Regions from separate parts of the Homo sapiens genome. Here all the other regions are linked to region 4. Evidence: promoter capture Hi-C in 16 types of primary human blood cells and fetal thymus (Javierre and others, 2016). All regions are on one chromosome and are shown on one strand. Each heading gives the region's core, a stretch centred on a gene start or on the middle of the fragment in contact. The rest is flanking DNA. Distances are from core to core; before and after follow the strand shown.

The links. The method cuts DNA at HindIII sites, captures the fragments that hold promoters and counts their contacts. A CHiCAGO score of 5 or more calls a contact.
Region 1: a fragment that was not itself captured here is called in contact with the fragment with the promoter of KRT33B in region 4 in 2 of 17 cell types (naive CD8 T cells and total CD4 T cells); the score reaches 5.1 in naive CD8 T cells.
Region 2: a contact is called between a fragment that was not itself captured here and the fragment with the promoter of KRT33B in region 4, in 6 of 17 cell types (total B cells, naive B cells, fetal thymus and 3 more). The highest score is 7.0, in total B cells.
Region 3: a contact is called between a fragment that was not itself captured here and the fragment with the promoter of KRT33B in region 4, in 3 of 17 cell types (non-activated CD4 T cells, total CD8 T cells and naive CD4 T cells). The highest score is 5.2, in non-activated CD4 T cells.
Region 5: a contact is called between a fragment that was not itself captured here and the fragment with the promoter of KRT33B in region 4, in 1 of 17 cell types (activated CD4 T cells). The highest score is 5.6, in activated CD4 T cells.

Annotation. Positions count from the first base shown.
Region 1 is chr17:41,057,650-41,060,349 of GRCh38, reverse strand. It overlaps KRTAP2-3 (keratin associated protein 2-3), which reads left to right and starts at 236. Exons shown (of 1, transcript NM_001165252.2): 1 at 236-1,110. The coding sequence starts at 300. The coding sequence ends at 686. RefSeq lists enhancers at 1-491, 492-1,066. The HindIII fragment of the contact is 1,173 bases long and covers 738-1,910 here.
Region 2 is chr17:41,014,963-41,017,662 of GRCh38, reverse strand. No RefSeq gene overlaps it. Among named protein-coding and RNA genes, the nearest start is that of KRTAP3-1, 7.2 kb to the right of the region's middle. The HindIII fragment of the contact is 4,126 bases long and covers 1-2,700 here.
Region 3 is chr17:41,108,048-41,110,747 of GRCh38, reverse strand. LOC124904002 (a long non-coding RNA gene) reads right to left here and starts at 2,516. Exons shown (of 2, transcript XR_007065754.1): 1 at 2,369-2,516; 2 at 1-744. The HindIII fragment of the contact is 4,149 bases long and covers 1-2,700 here.
Region 4 is chr17:41,368,559-41,371,258 of GRCh38, reverse strand. It overlaps KRT33B (keratin 33B), which reads left to right and starts at 1,446. Exons shown (of 7, transcript NM_002279.5): 1 at 1,446-1,856. The coding sequence starts at 1,509. The HindIII fragment of the contact is 2,505 bases long and covers 337-2,700 here.
Region 5 is chr17:41,076,842-41,079,541 of GRCh38, reverse strand. No RefSeq gene overlaps it. Among named protein-coding and RNA genes, the nearest start is that of KRTAP4-7, 6.0 kb to the left of the region's middle. The HindIII fragment of the contact is 3,521 bases long and covers 1-2,700 here.

The sequences.
Region 1 (2,700 bases), core at 75-2,574, 310 kb after region 4:
GCTGATAGATGAGCAATTGTTCTGATGATATACATGACCAGGTATTCCGTTCTAGGGAAAAAGTAGACAGGTAGAAAACAAAGCATTCTTTAGTGATTTAGGGATCGCTGCCTCAGCAGTTAAATCCAGAGTTCTCATTTCAACGGGCAGCTACAACTCCAGGAAATGACCTCATGTCCTGGGGGTCATCAGCATCCAGCTAGGATATATAAAGGGCCCAGAGTGGAACGAGGACATTCACACCTGAGAACATCCAGCTCCTCTCAACAGCCCAACCCACACCAGCCTCAGACACCACCATGACCGGCTCCTGCTGCGGCTCCACCTTGTCCTCCCTGAGCTACGGGGGAGGCTGCTGCCAGCCCTGCTGCTGCCGCGACCCCTGCTGCTGCCGCCCCGTGACCTGCCAGACCACCGTGTGCCGCCCCGTGACCTGCGTGCCCCGCTGCACGCGCCCCATCTGCGAGCCCTGCCGCCGCCCGGTGTGCTGCGACCCCTGCTCCCTGCAGGAAGGCTGCTGCCGCCCCATCACCTGCTGCCCCTCGTCGTGCACGGCTGTGGTGTGCAGGCCCTGCTGCTGGGCCACCACCTGCTGCCAGCCTGTGTCTGTGCAGTCCCCCTGCTGCCGGCCTCCCTGCGGCCAGCCGACCCCTTGCAGCACCACCTGCAGGACCTCCTCCTGCTGAGACCCCACCTCTCCTCTCAACGCACGAAACATTCCCAGGTGCACAGAAGCTTGTGCAGACTCTTCTACCCCTTCTGGATCAGATGAGAGACTCCACCTTTGCAGCCTAGCTGATCCTCAAGCACGAATTCAACAATAACATCCTATCTATTTCCCCACATAATTATGCAGCTAATCCTGGCCCTCTCTGACAATCTTGAGAAAAATTCCAGCTTTCATCATTCGAATTCCTGGCTTGAAAAAAAAAACGAGTAAATAAAAATCAAAGCTCCTCTTGAATAGAACTCTGTCCCACTGACTCATCACCCTTTTTTCTACTGTTTCAAGGTTCTCAGATGAGATTTTTTTCTTCCAGGATAATACTATTTGTATGCTGTATTTTTGCACTGTAAAAAAAAATAAAATTATATTTCTGGGGAAGCAAACATTTCTTTTTATTTATTGTTTATTGCTCTTCAAAAGCTCATATTTAGCTTACATTACAGCATGCAGAACCAGAAGAACGAAAGGAGAGATTTTCTAAGGGCCATTTTTGAGCTTTAGAATAGGAACAACTCAGGTGGAAGGTCTATAATTTTAATAGCATTTCAAATAAATCTGATCATCTCATGATTCACCTTCATATTTCGAGTCGCAGGTTTTATGGTGATGCTGACGAAATGGTGAGACTACAGTAGGTCTCTGTAAACATAAACTTGACTTATGAATAATTCACACACATGATAAGGGGGAGGAAGTCTAAGCTAAGTTATAGCCCTATTTGTTCACCAATGTAGGAAACTGTACGGTAATTGATGTCAAACAAGACCTGGGAATCCCTAGCCACTGAACATCCTATGCTGGAGGAACCACTATCCCATCTTCTCCATGGTTCCCGTCAGCACCACCATGGCCAGTTCTACTTCCAGTGGAGTGGCTGCTGCTGAGAAGACAGGGAGAAATGAAGCCTTGGTTGTAATCATCCTAGTTTTGAGCTCCGCATACATCTTAACCATTTAAACAACTGCAATGCGGTTGAAATGCTGATAACATTAATCCATACTGCATATATTTTTGATTTTGTTAAATACTTGTATGTTGGTAAGGAAGGCTAACCACTATCATTTTCCTGATAAATATCTTTTTAGTTCCTAGCATGTGATAGAAAAGAGATTTCTTTGATTGTTCAGCATGTATTCCTGGGCATATCTACCTGCCCATTGAGAGAAGTGAGGCAAGGGAAGCTTTGTGAGGGCAGGGGTCTTTAGTCTTTTTAATTTAAATTTATTTCAAGTTCAGGGGTACATGTGCACGTTTGTTATATAGGTAAATTGTGTGTCACAGGGTTTTGGTATACAGATTATTTCATCACCCAGGTAATAAGCATAGTAACAGATGGCCAGGTGCAGTGGCTCAAGCCTGAAATCCCAGCACTTTGGGAGGCTGAGATGGGTAGGTCACTTGAGGCCAGGAATTCAAGACCATCCTGGCCAACATGGTGAAACCCTGTCTCTACTAAAAATACAAAAAGTAGCTGGGCATGGTGGCATGCGCCTGTAATCCAAGCTACTCAGGAGGCTGAATCAGGAGAATCGCTTGAACCTGGGAGGCAGAGGCTTTGGTGAGACAAGGTTGCGCCACTGCACTCCTGCCTGGGTGACAGAGTGAGACTCTGTCTCAAAACTTAATTAATTAATTAATTTAATTAAACAAAAGCATAGTAACAGATAGATGGTTTTTTTATCCTCACCCTCTTCCCACCATCTGCCCTCAAGTAAGCTTCAGTATCTGTTGTTCCCTTATTTGTGTCCATATGTACTCAATGTTTAGCTACCACTTATAAGTGAGAACATGCCGTATTTGGTTTTCTGTATCTGTGTTAGTTTGCTTAGGATAATGGCCTCCAGCTTCATCCACATTGCTACAAAGGACATAATTTCCTTTTTTATGGCTGTATAGTATTCCATGGTGTATGTGTACCACATTTTCTTTATCCAGTCCACCCTTGATGGGTATTTAGGTTGATTCCATATCTT
Region 2 (2,700 bases), core at 123-2,622, 350 kb after region 4:
CTAATCCAAAGCACCAACTATTATGAGCCTATGTTGGGCCTATTCATTTCTAAGCACGTTCTCTTTTTTCTTCTTTGTTCTTGCATTACAAATATGGGATAGAGAAACAGGAGTGGTAGAATACACAACATGAAAATCAAAATTCCTGGCTTTTAATGGGTTAATATTTAACATACAAAATTTCGACTTTTATTTTCTCAATTTTTTAATATCTTATTTATTTTAGTTGCATGAATGAAACAAACGAGATATTTTCCCAAAAGGATCAGAGAAATCTTGGTCCAAATGGGGCCAGAGTAAAGAACTACAATTATGTTATCTCTAAGACAGTACTGACTTGTTCAAAAGATGACACCTGTGACCCTGGAAAAAAAAGATCCTAGTGGGCTGATAACCTTACGGTAGGAAGAAGGGAAAGAACTCAGGATTTTCAGAGCAACTGAAGCCAGGAAGCATGAGGAAGTTTGAGAAGAGTTAGAGATGGCAGAGGTTGACAGCAACAGCCACAAAAAACTCTGAACAGAAGGAAATTCAACGTTCTCTATTCAGGAGAGGTTGAGGGAGACAAAACAATAGAATCCTAGAGATAGAATTCAGGAAACTCTGAGGTTAACATTTTTGCCCTTTACTCCAACGCTTGTTGGTTTAGTGATCAGAAGGGACCAAACAGAAAGAGAACTGCACAAAAGCCAGGGATAGTAGTTAGAGGGAACCAGAAGCTGAGACTAGAAGTCATACAAAACACTTGTTTTGTGTGTTAACGTGTACTAAGCAAAACAAACTTGTTATGTTGTTTCTCAGGGGTCCCCAAGCCCCGGGTTGCAGAGCGATACCTGTCCCTGGCCTGTTAGGAACTGGATCACATGGCAGGAGGTGAGCAGCCGAGGAGCAAGTGTTCCCACCTGAGCTTTGCCTCCTGTCAGCTCAGCAGATCGGCGGTGGCATTAGATTCTCACAGAAGCGCAAAGCCTATTGTGAACCGCACGTGCGAGGGATCAAGGTTGCACGTTCCTTGTGAGAATCTGTCTGAGGTGGGACAGTTTCATCCCAAAACCATCCCACCTTCATCCCACCCACAGTCCATGGAAAAATTGTCCTCCATGAAACCGGTCCCTGGTGTCAAAAAGAATGGGGACTGCTATTGTATTTGAGTATAGGTTGACACTTTAATCACTCTGAAGATGTTTTTAACTGTAGGAAGGGGCAGAGAGTGGGATGAGAAAGGAATCAGAAGACCTGAGTTTAAAATCCCAACTCTACTCACTCACTGACTGTGACCTTAGACAAGTCTTCTCAGAAGCTCAGTTTTTGTCTTCTATATCAAATGGGGGTTCTAATATGTCACAGTATTGCTGTGAATAACAAATAAGGTTATTAATAGTAATATGCCTGGCATATAGTAGGTGCTCCAGAAATTTTATTTTCTATTCCTCTTCTCCACTCAAGTGTATGTCTTCAGGAGCAGAAAGCCCTTTTGGCTATGGAGAGGATAGCATGAGCCAGATAGTCATGTGTGGAAAATAGCTTTAAAAATAGGAAGAGCATTGCTCAGGGTGATGTTGTATTCCATTTGAATAAAATGGATCACATAAAAATGGTCATCTCATTCTCAGTCCAAGCGCTTCATAGTAAGCACAGTTTTCATCTATATGTTGGAGCCTTCCAAATCTTCACCTCCAGCACTGAGCGTGGTGTACTCTCGAAAATCAAAACACACAATATTAGTGGGAACGTTTATCTCATGTTATCTTCCTCCTTTCTGCTCTTTTCATCCCAATGGACTCAGATGTCAAATTTCCACTCAGGAAAACTGACCGGCTATAATTACAAGCTGTTGCAATACATCTTATTCTACAGAGGAAATTTTTAACTGTATCAAAATATAAATTGTGTCACTTCATGTAAATCACAGATAGTAATAAGAAAGAATGAGGAAGAAGTCACGCTCAAGCAGCTAGAGCATTTCTTCAGTCCCCTCTGAGTAATAAATCCTGCTAGGCGTTTGTGATGACTGCCTCCTGAAAAAGGCAACGTGGTAGAGGGGACATGAGGAGTGCACACTGCTTACCAGTGATCTCACAGGGTTCCAGCAAAGCAAGGTCGAGGGGCACAGTTTGCTTTTTGGAGGCGGGGTCTTCACTGGTTACAAAAACTATAATGAAGACTATCAACAGGCAGGCTTTCCAGGCGTGGGAAACCTAAAAGCTAAACTCCCAAATTTAGCCCTAGATTCCCTATCGTCGGAGAGAAAGAATACCTGAAAATGACGGGGAAGAAAAAAGCTCCAGCCTCCCTCTGCTTATTTAGTAACAACAATCACACCTATTAGAATCATTTATTGAGGACTTACTATGTTCCAGGCACTGCATTGCACATTTTAATGCTTTCTTTAATTTATTCTTTAAACATCCTATCAATGTGATAGTAACATTAGCCATATTTACAAATGACGGAGTTAAAGAGGTAACTTCCTGCCTTAGAAAAATATATACCAGTGGTTCTCCATGGGTCTACTTAATTCAAGTTCAAACACCTCATCCTGGGGTCAAGACTCTACATCTTGCTTTTATCTCACACAATTGTTCTCTAGACACAGCGCACTATTCATGGCTTCCTAACAACCATTTGTTCTTTTCCACTTCTATGCATTTACTGCTGCTGTTCCCTATAGCTGGAATGCCTTCCTACTCCTCTGCCTTG
Region 3 (2,700 bases), core at 47-2,546, 260 kb after region 4:
TTATCTTAAGCCAATTAATTAGAACTCTTTTATATATTTTCAGTAGCGAGAAATTGTGTACACATCACATAAATATATAGACATAGTAGGCATGCTGATAGAAGTACATCGTATAGATACTTAAGGAGCTTTTTTCCCCTATCTTAGGCTTTCAAATTCTTAATAACCTGTTTTACTCCCCTAGGGAGTTGTCAGCTAAATAGCCTTAAGTTTGCATGTTAAAGGAAACAACTCAGGCAAAAATCAAATAGCAAAATTATATCATAAGGTACAGAGAGAAAAAGTCTGGTGGTGCTAGAGGGAAGTCAAAATGGATTTAATTGCCAATTAAACATAAAATTATAAAAATTATAAAGGCCTTTTAAATAGATACACACACACACACACACACACACACAAACACACACACAGAAATCCTATAGCTTTTACTTCAGAACTTTAGCCATGAGACAAATACAAATTCACCAGGTTGCAAACAAAAAGCCTGTTGTATCCAAACAGTGGTTTTGATCTTAATAGAAAAATAACAGCAGATTTAAAGCAGGCAGAAAAGAAAATAGAGAAAAAAGAGAACTTAGGAACTCTGTAGTTTGTAGGTTGACCTTAAGGCTCTTCTTTTCTTTCTTTTTCTTTTCTTTCTTTCTTTCTTTCTTTCTTTCTTTCTTTCTTTCTTTCTTTCTTTCTTTCTTTCTTGCTTGCTTGCTTTCTTGCTTGCTTGCTTTCTTTCCTTCTTTTCTTTCTCTTCTAAAAAAAAATGAAATACACATGCAGGAGAACGTGCAGGTTTGTTACATAGGTATATGTGTGCCTTGGTGGTTTGCTGCACCTATTGACCCATCCTCTAAATTCCCTCCTCTCATTCCCCACCCCCCAACAGCCCCTGATATGTGTTGCTCTCCTCTCTGTGTCCATGTGTTCTCAAAGTTCAACTCCCATATATGAGTGAGAACATGTTGTATTTGGTATTCTGTTTCTGTGTTAGTTTGCTGAGGATGATGGTTTCCAGCTTCATCCATGTCCCTACAAAGGACATGATCTCACTCCGTTTTATGGCTGCATCGTATTCCATGGTGTATATGTACCACATTTTCTTTATCAAGTCTATAATTGATGGGCGTTTGGGTTAGTTCCATGTCTTTGCTCTTGTAAATAGTGCTGCAATAAACATACATGTGCCTGTGTCTTTATAGTAGAATGATTTGTATTCCTTTGGGTATATAACAAGTAATGGGATTGCTGGATCAAATGGTATTTCTGATTCTAGATCCTTGAGGAATCACCATACTGTCTTCCACAATGGTTGAACTAATTTACATGGGCCCTTTCTTTCTTAATGTAAATATGCACAAAGACCATATTACTTCCATTTTACTTAAACTCTGGCAAGTACAGGTGCCATAAAACCTATGGAGTGCTTGAAAGGGAATCATTCTCTTTGCTTTCTCCTCATTCTTAGATTATTTGTTTCCCAGTTTTCTTCTTAAAAAGAGGAACTGAGCTGAGGCCTAGAGGTTTTCTGTGGTGGATCAATATGTGCCATTTGTGGGCAGGACTCCACAGTGGGTCACCACTGAAAACAACAGTTCAGTTCCTCATGCAAATGCACACAGACAAGCTGAATTGAGCTTAATTTGGGGAGAAAAAGCAACAGAGAAGATCCTTTAGAATGCATTTGTGAACTAGAATTAGGATCTTTAAACGACAAATTCCTAGAAGGAAAACAAAACAACAGCCAAGACCACTTTTTGTAAACCTTGCTCAGCCACCCCTTAACTTTGTAGCTCTCATCTACCACTATACACAACAAGGTCAAAGCCAAAGAGGTCAGGTCATGCAATACAGGAAAATAGAGGTTTAGAGTTAAGAAGAATCTACCCATGACTCTTGAAACTCCACAAAGAAAACAAAACACCCCAAAAGGGGTGAGTGGCAACCTTTGTTCTGAATTCTTTAAGGGGGTTCAAGTCATTAGAAGCCTTCTCTAGACTTTTTGGTACTGCATATGGCAAAGGGGGAGGAGGTATATGGTGCAAGAAAAGTAAACGAAAGAACATTCGTGTTTTAAGACAGGAAGCAAACACAGAAACCAAGTGCATGGGTTTTTGGTTCTTTTTGTTTGTTTTCTTCTTTTGCAGCTGCAATGAATTTTAGCCAAATTAGAGAGGTTTTGTTACCCGTAATTTTGAATTCTCACTTGGATTTGACCAAGTCAGGTAGAGTTGGTCAAGTCTGATGGGAGAAAGACCAAAACAAACAACAAAATCTCCAACCATAGGATTACCAAGCACTCTAATGATAAGGAGAAATTAAGAGCAGCTAGCTGGTTGTTAAACTTTAGCCCAGACAAAGCCCCAGTTCAGCTACTTACCTAGGGATGGGTCTCAGGCTGAAGGCTGCTTTCTACCACCCTAGAAGCAGGAAAAAAACTCAAACTGGTCTTCCCTGCTGGGAGTGAGCTCAAACTCTACATGCCTTTCATCATCATGGAAGCAGGAAATCTTGCCTTCCTTGTAAAGGAAGTAAAAGTAAATCTTGCCTTCCTTATAAGGAAGGCAAGTAAGCAAGTAAAACTCCAAAAACAAAAATAGGTGGGGCAGTTGTACAGCAAAATGAACTTTAGTTCTTCACCAAATTTGGGGAGATCAGGGATTCTTTGGGGAGGGTGCTCCCAGACCTCAGCAAATTGTCCTATTGATTTGA
Region 4 (2,700 bases), core at 197-2,696:
GGAAGGGTGATCTGAGGAATGGCAGGTCACCTGTAGGAAAAGAATTCTTGTATGGCAAGACTTAATATGTAGCTTCCAAAAGGAACAACTTGGAGGAGTATCTTTCAGAATTTGAGCACTGATAGATTAAACATAAAATCCTCATATTTCATAGTTCCATCTGGAATGCATGAGAGTAGAGCATCTGCTTGCCAAAATGTGCCAATGGTCATAAAATGCCACTTCATGCACATGACATAGTGGTGGATTTTCAGGGTCATATCCTTTGGAGAGCTAGGCTTGGGTATTTCTCCCTCAGATCAACCAAGGGTTTCCTTTTTTTTTTTTTTTCAAGCTTCTAGTGGGTATGAGGCATTTTCACTTAGTAAACTTCCTTCCTTCAGCATAGAAGTGACTTTTGGTTCTTTAATAAGTAAAAAACAGGCTTGTTATTTTTTGGCCCATTCTAATTTAGGATATTGTCAGCACTGATTGAGCTCAATGGAGCTCAATCTGTATTTTTTGCATTATTGCATCTCAGTACTGAAAAGATTGGAAGAGAGAGACATGTAATATGACAGAGTGTGGACATTGGAATTAGAGAGATCTGTATTTGAACCCTGGCTCCATCATGTAGGAGCTCTGTGACCTTGGGAGACCTCTCAGAGGCTTAGGGTCCTTATCTACAAACCCTTGCAGCATTTTGAGAGGACTGAAGGAGCTGGTGCATATGAGGTGCCTGGCACTGTGCCTGGTGCACAGTGGAGGCTCAGCAAGCAGGACCCATCACCAATGACAGAGTCACGCTGTGCACAGGCATGGAGCACAGTGCTTCATGCAGAGTAGGTGCTCCCAAAATTTAGGTTTCTTAATGTTCTGTGAACACTGAATACTAGTAGAAACGGAGGTGGGTGGCTTCCTGCAGCCCCATAGGAAGAGGGTAGAGTTGCCTCCATCTGCCTGGATGGAACTGCAAATGGGCCTTGAACCAATGGCCTTGTAAGTCCTTTCTCATTTCAGCTTCCAGGATTCCCTATCACATAGTCTAGTTTCTAGACGGGTTTCCTTACATGGCTTTTCTCACAGAGTCTTAATTGAATATGAACTGGATGAGACACAAGCCTTTCCTCATTTAGGAGAAAGAGGCACATATGTGCCCCCTACTCTGGGGACAGGGCCCAGCTGTCACTCTAGCTCAATGTCCCATGGATAAGCACTGCTACAGGCAAGGTTGGTCACTTTGAAGCCAAACCATGAAGCTCTTACTTAACCAATCAGCATGTTTTGTGAGGAGTCCTGACTTAGCAAGAAGCCAGAGTAAAACATTTAATGAGGTATAGGACTCAGGTGAAGTGGCTAAATAACAAATGGAAAAATCAGCAAAGGAGGTAAAAAGGAGGAATACTTGACATGGTTGCCACACCCACTGCTAACAGAATATAAAGCCCTGGAAAGGACCAAGGCTTATCCCAGGGAAAAGGAATCAGGTTTTGAAACTGACTTCCAGAGCTCCACTGCCTCCCTGCACCATGCCCTACAACTTCTGCCTGCCCAGCCTGAGCTGCCGCACCAGCTGCTCCTCCCGGCCCTGTGTGCCCCCCAGCTGCCACGGCTACACCCTGCCCGGGGCCTGCAACATCCCTGCCAATGTGAGCAACTGCAACTGGTTCTGCGAGGGCTCCTTCAATGGCAGCGAGAAGGAGACTATGCAGTTCCTGAACGACCGCCTGGCCAGCTACCTGGAGAAGGTGCGTCAGCTGGAGCGGGACAACGCGGAGCTGGAGAACCTCATCCGGGAGCGGTCTCAGCAGCAGGAGCCCTTGCTGTGCCCCAGCTACCAGTCCTACTTCAAGACCATTGAGGAGCTCCAGCAGAAGGTGAGGAGGTGGGCACCACACTGCCAGCTTAATGAACTACTTATCTATATTTGACATACTAAACTGTGAATGGATCTAAGTCTGTTCACAGTAATGCTGAGAATGATAAAGACATAGATTCACTGGCTTAGGTATGACATCAAGTAGTCTTAGAAAATCTGTTGTAGAGCCACAAAGGAAGGATGCAGGCTGGTGTTAGAGTGAAGCATTAGACCAAAATCAGTCATAGCAATCTTATATGGCGTCTTACTCCAAACCAGAATATCTGATTTTTTGGTTTGATTATGATACCCTGGTTTTGTTTTCAGAGCATTACCGCATTTTCAAAAAGTATGCACCTGAATTATTTTCTATGCTAAGAATTTCCTAAGTAAATCTTCAAATATTTAAAGCCTTTCAAAGCTGTAGCAAAATATAGCATTTATGGCAACACAAGAGAGCTGTTGACTCCAGCAATATCTACAGACACATGGACCATCCTCTAGAGCAGCCATGTGTACAGATGACAATATGGGGCCATCTGTTCTGGAAGAGAAGTAGATATAAGTAAAGAGTCCACAGAGAATTGGGACTGAATACCTGGTGTAGGTTTGGGAGGGATCCCAGAAGAGGCAATGTCTGAGTGGGGTTTGAAGGATGAGTGGGAGTTTATATCCAATTGTACAAGCCCTTGATTCTGGGAGGGAATTGACTGCCCACTGTTCTGTAGATCTGGAAAATTAGATGCCAGAAAGGGGTTGTGCTATTTGAATATCATTCATTTATTTACCCAGAGTTGGAGAGTGTTAGGCACAGTGCTGGGGTGGGGGATAATGTACTGAGTAAGACAGTCTCCTTCCTTCAG
Region 5 (2,700 bases), core at 167-2,666, 290 kb after region 4:
GTCCATGAATTTTGTGGAAGATGCCAATTTTCCCTCGGTACAGGCCAGGGAAAATTAGCCTGCACATGTCCCAAATTAATAAGATTTTGTTGTATGATGATCAATTATAGCAAGAAATTTAGGAAGCGTAGGAGATATTCAGGACATTGTCCTAATTCTTTTCTATGATGTAACCTGATCATCAGAATTTCAGGTAATATGTTAGTCAAGTAATGAATTATTGCCCCAACACACAATACTCCTAGGAATACATAATGCCAATAGAATAGAATAGAGCAAAAGTGAATCACTAATGCCACAGTCTTCAATGTTCAGAATATTCACAGGGTCATGTAGGGATTGGCTTAGGGCCTTGAAGAGCCCTGTGTGACTCACAGGTGGGATCACAATAGCAGGTCCATGTGCGCAGATGAGCTTTATATTGGTCAGAAATGTTCTTTTGGAAGGTCTTTGTTGGGTTTGATATAATCGGAAATTAGGAGTCCTATACAGCTATAGATCATCATTCACTTATCTATTCAACAATGGTGAGAACTCTCTCATTCTGTTCTACAGACTATGCAGGAACCTCCATTCTACTTGTTCTTTAAGACTTAGGTGCTATTACCTCCACAAGCAAACCTTTCCTGATGCTCTCTGCCCAAGCCACCTCTCCCTTAAGTTGCCCTCTTCTAAGATCCTGGCAGCATGTTTCTCATGTGTTTCATATTGTTGAATTTATTGTTAGCTTTTTGAAAGCTCTTTGGAGATATAATTGACAAGTAAAAATTGCATATATTCAAGGTGTACAAAATAATGTTTTGATATACATATACATTGTGAAATAGATGACCACAATCAAACTAATTAACATATCAATCACCTCACATAGTTATTCTTTTTGTGGTGAAAATACTTATGTTCTAGCAAATTTCAAGTGTACAATACAGTATTGTTAACTATAGTCACATTGCCATACATTCAATTTCCAGAACTTACTGATTTTGGATAGCTGAAACTTTATACTCTTTGACCAACGTCTACCCGTTTCTTCCTCATTCCACCCCATGCAACCACCATATAAGTCAGATCATGCAGTATCGGTCTTTGTGTGTCTAGCTTATTTCACTTAGCTTAATGTCCTCTGGGTTCATCCATGTTGTTATAAATGACAGGATTTTCTTCCTTTTAAAGGCTGAATTGCATTTTGAATAATGACATTTATATACATTTTCTTTATCCACTCATCTGTGGATGGGCATATAGATATTTCTGTATCTTAGTAGCTGTGAATAATGCTGCAATGTACATACAAGTGCAGATATCTTCAAGATAGTGATTTTATTTACTTTGGATATGTATCCAGAAGTGGAATTGCTGGTTCACAGGTGAGTTCTATTTTTAATTTTTTGAGGAGCCTCCATACTGTTTTCCATAATGGCTGCATCAAGTTACATTCCCACCAACAATGTATAAGAGTTCCCTTTACACCACATCCTTGCCAACACTTATCTTTTGACTTTTTGATAACAGCCATCCTAACAGGCATGAGGTAATATCTTATTGTGGTTTTCATTATCACTTCCCTGATGATTAGTGACGTTGAGCACCTTTTCAAAGACTACATTTGACAGTAATTTAGAATTCTCAGGTCAATTGGGAAGTTGGAACACAAAGGGAGAGGAAGAATGGTGGCTGTTGGATAGAGAGGGATGTAAGAGCTAAATTCTCATCACACATAACAGTGGGCCAATAGATAATATCTAAACTTTAAAAGTCAAGAAATAGTACTGTAACCACACCATTTAGAAAGATCTTTTTTCCTAGAGTTCTCCCTCCAAAATCTTCATCTTACTGTTCTCCTCTGCACTGATTGCTTTCTAGGCTTGCTGTACGGTTGCCATTTTTGGATTTATCTTGAATGCAATTCTGATTTTCCGACTTGAAATTCCTGTTTTCTGAATCTGTGTTCTCCTCTTTGTCAACTTCTTCTTCATGTTGGTGGTGCACATCCTCCAGACGTTACTTTAGAAAGGGTTCACGGACAATAAGGATTTTTTTGGGCTTTTCATATCTGAAAATGTTACTATTCCTTTGTTTCTGTTTGGTAGTTTGGCCAGGCATGGAATTCTAGGCTAAAAAACATCCCACTGAGAAATTTTAAGGCATTTCCCATTGTCTTCTGGCTTCCGGTGTTGATGTTGAAAAGTGTGATGCCATTTCGCCTCCTGAACCTTGGTATGGGAACCACATATTATTTTCCTCATTGGACGCTTTCAGTACCATTTTCATATCCCTAATATTCTGAGATTTCACAGTGATGTATCTTGATGTAAGCCTTACATTCACTGTTCTCAGCGCTGGTGGTCTTTTAATCTGGAGCTCCCTTCTGAAAGAAATTTTCTTATACTATTTCTTTGATAGTTTTCTCCCTTGTATTTCCTTCCTTCCTTCTTCTTTCCTTCCCTCCCTCCCTTCCTCTTTCTCTATTTCCCTTTCTTCCTGTCTTCCTTCCTTTCTTTTTCTTCCTTGTCTTTCTTTCTTTTCCTTCCTTCCTCTTTCTCTTTCTTTCTCTCCTTTCCTTCCTCCCTCTCTTCTTTCCTTCCTTCCTCCCTCCTTCCTTCCCTTCTTCCTTCCTTCCCTTCTTCCTTCCTTCCCTTCTTCCTTCCTTCTCTTCCTTCCTTCCCTTCTTCCTTCCTTCCCTTCTTCCTTTCTTCCTTT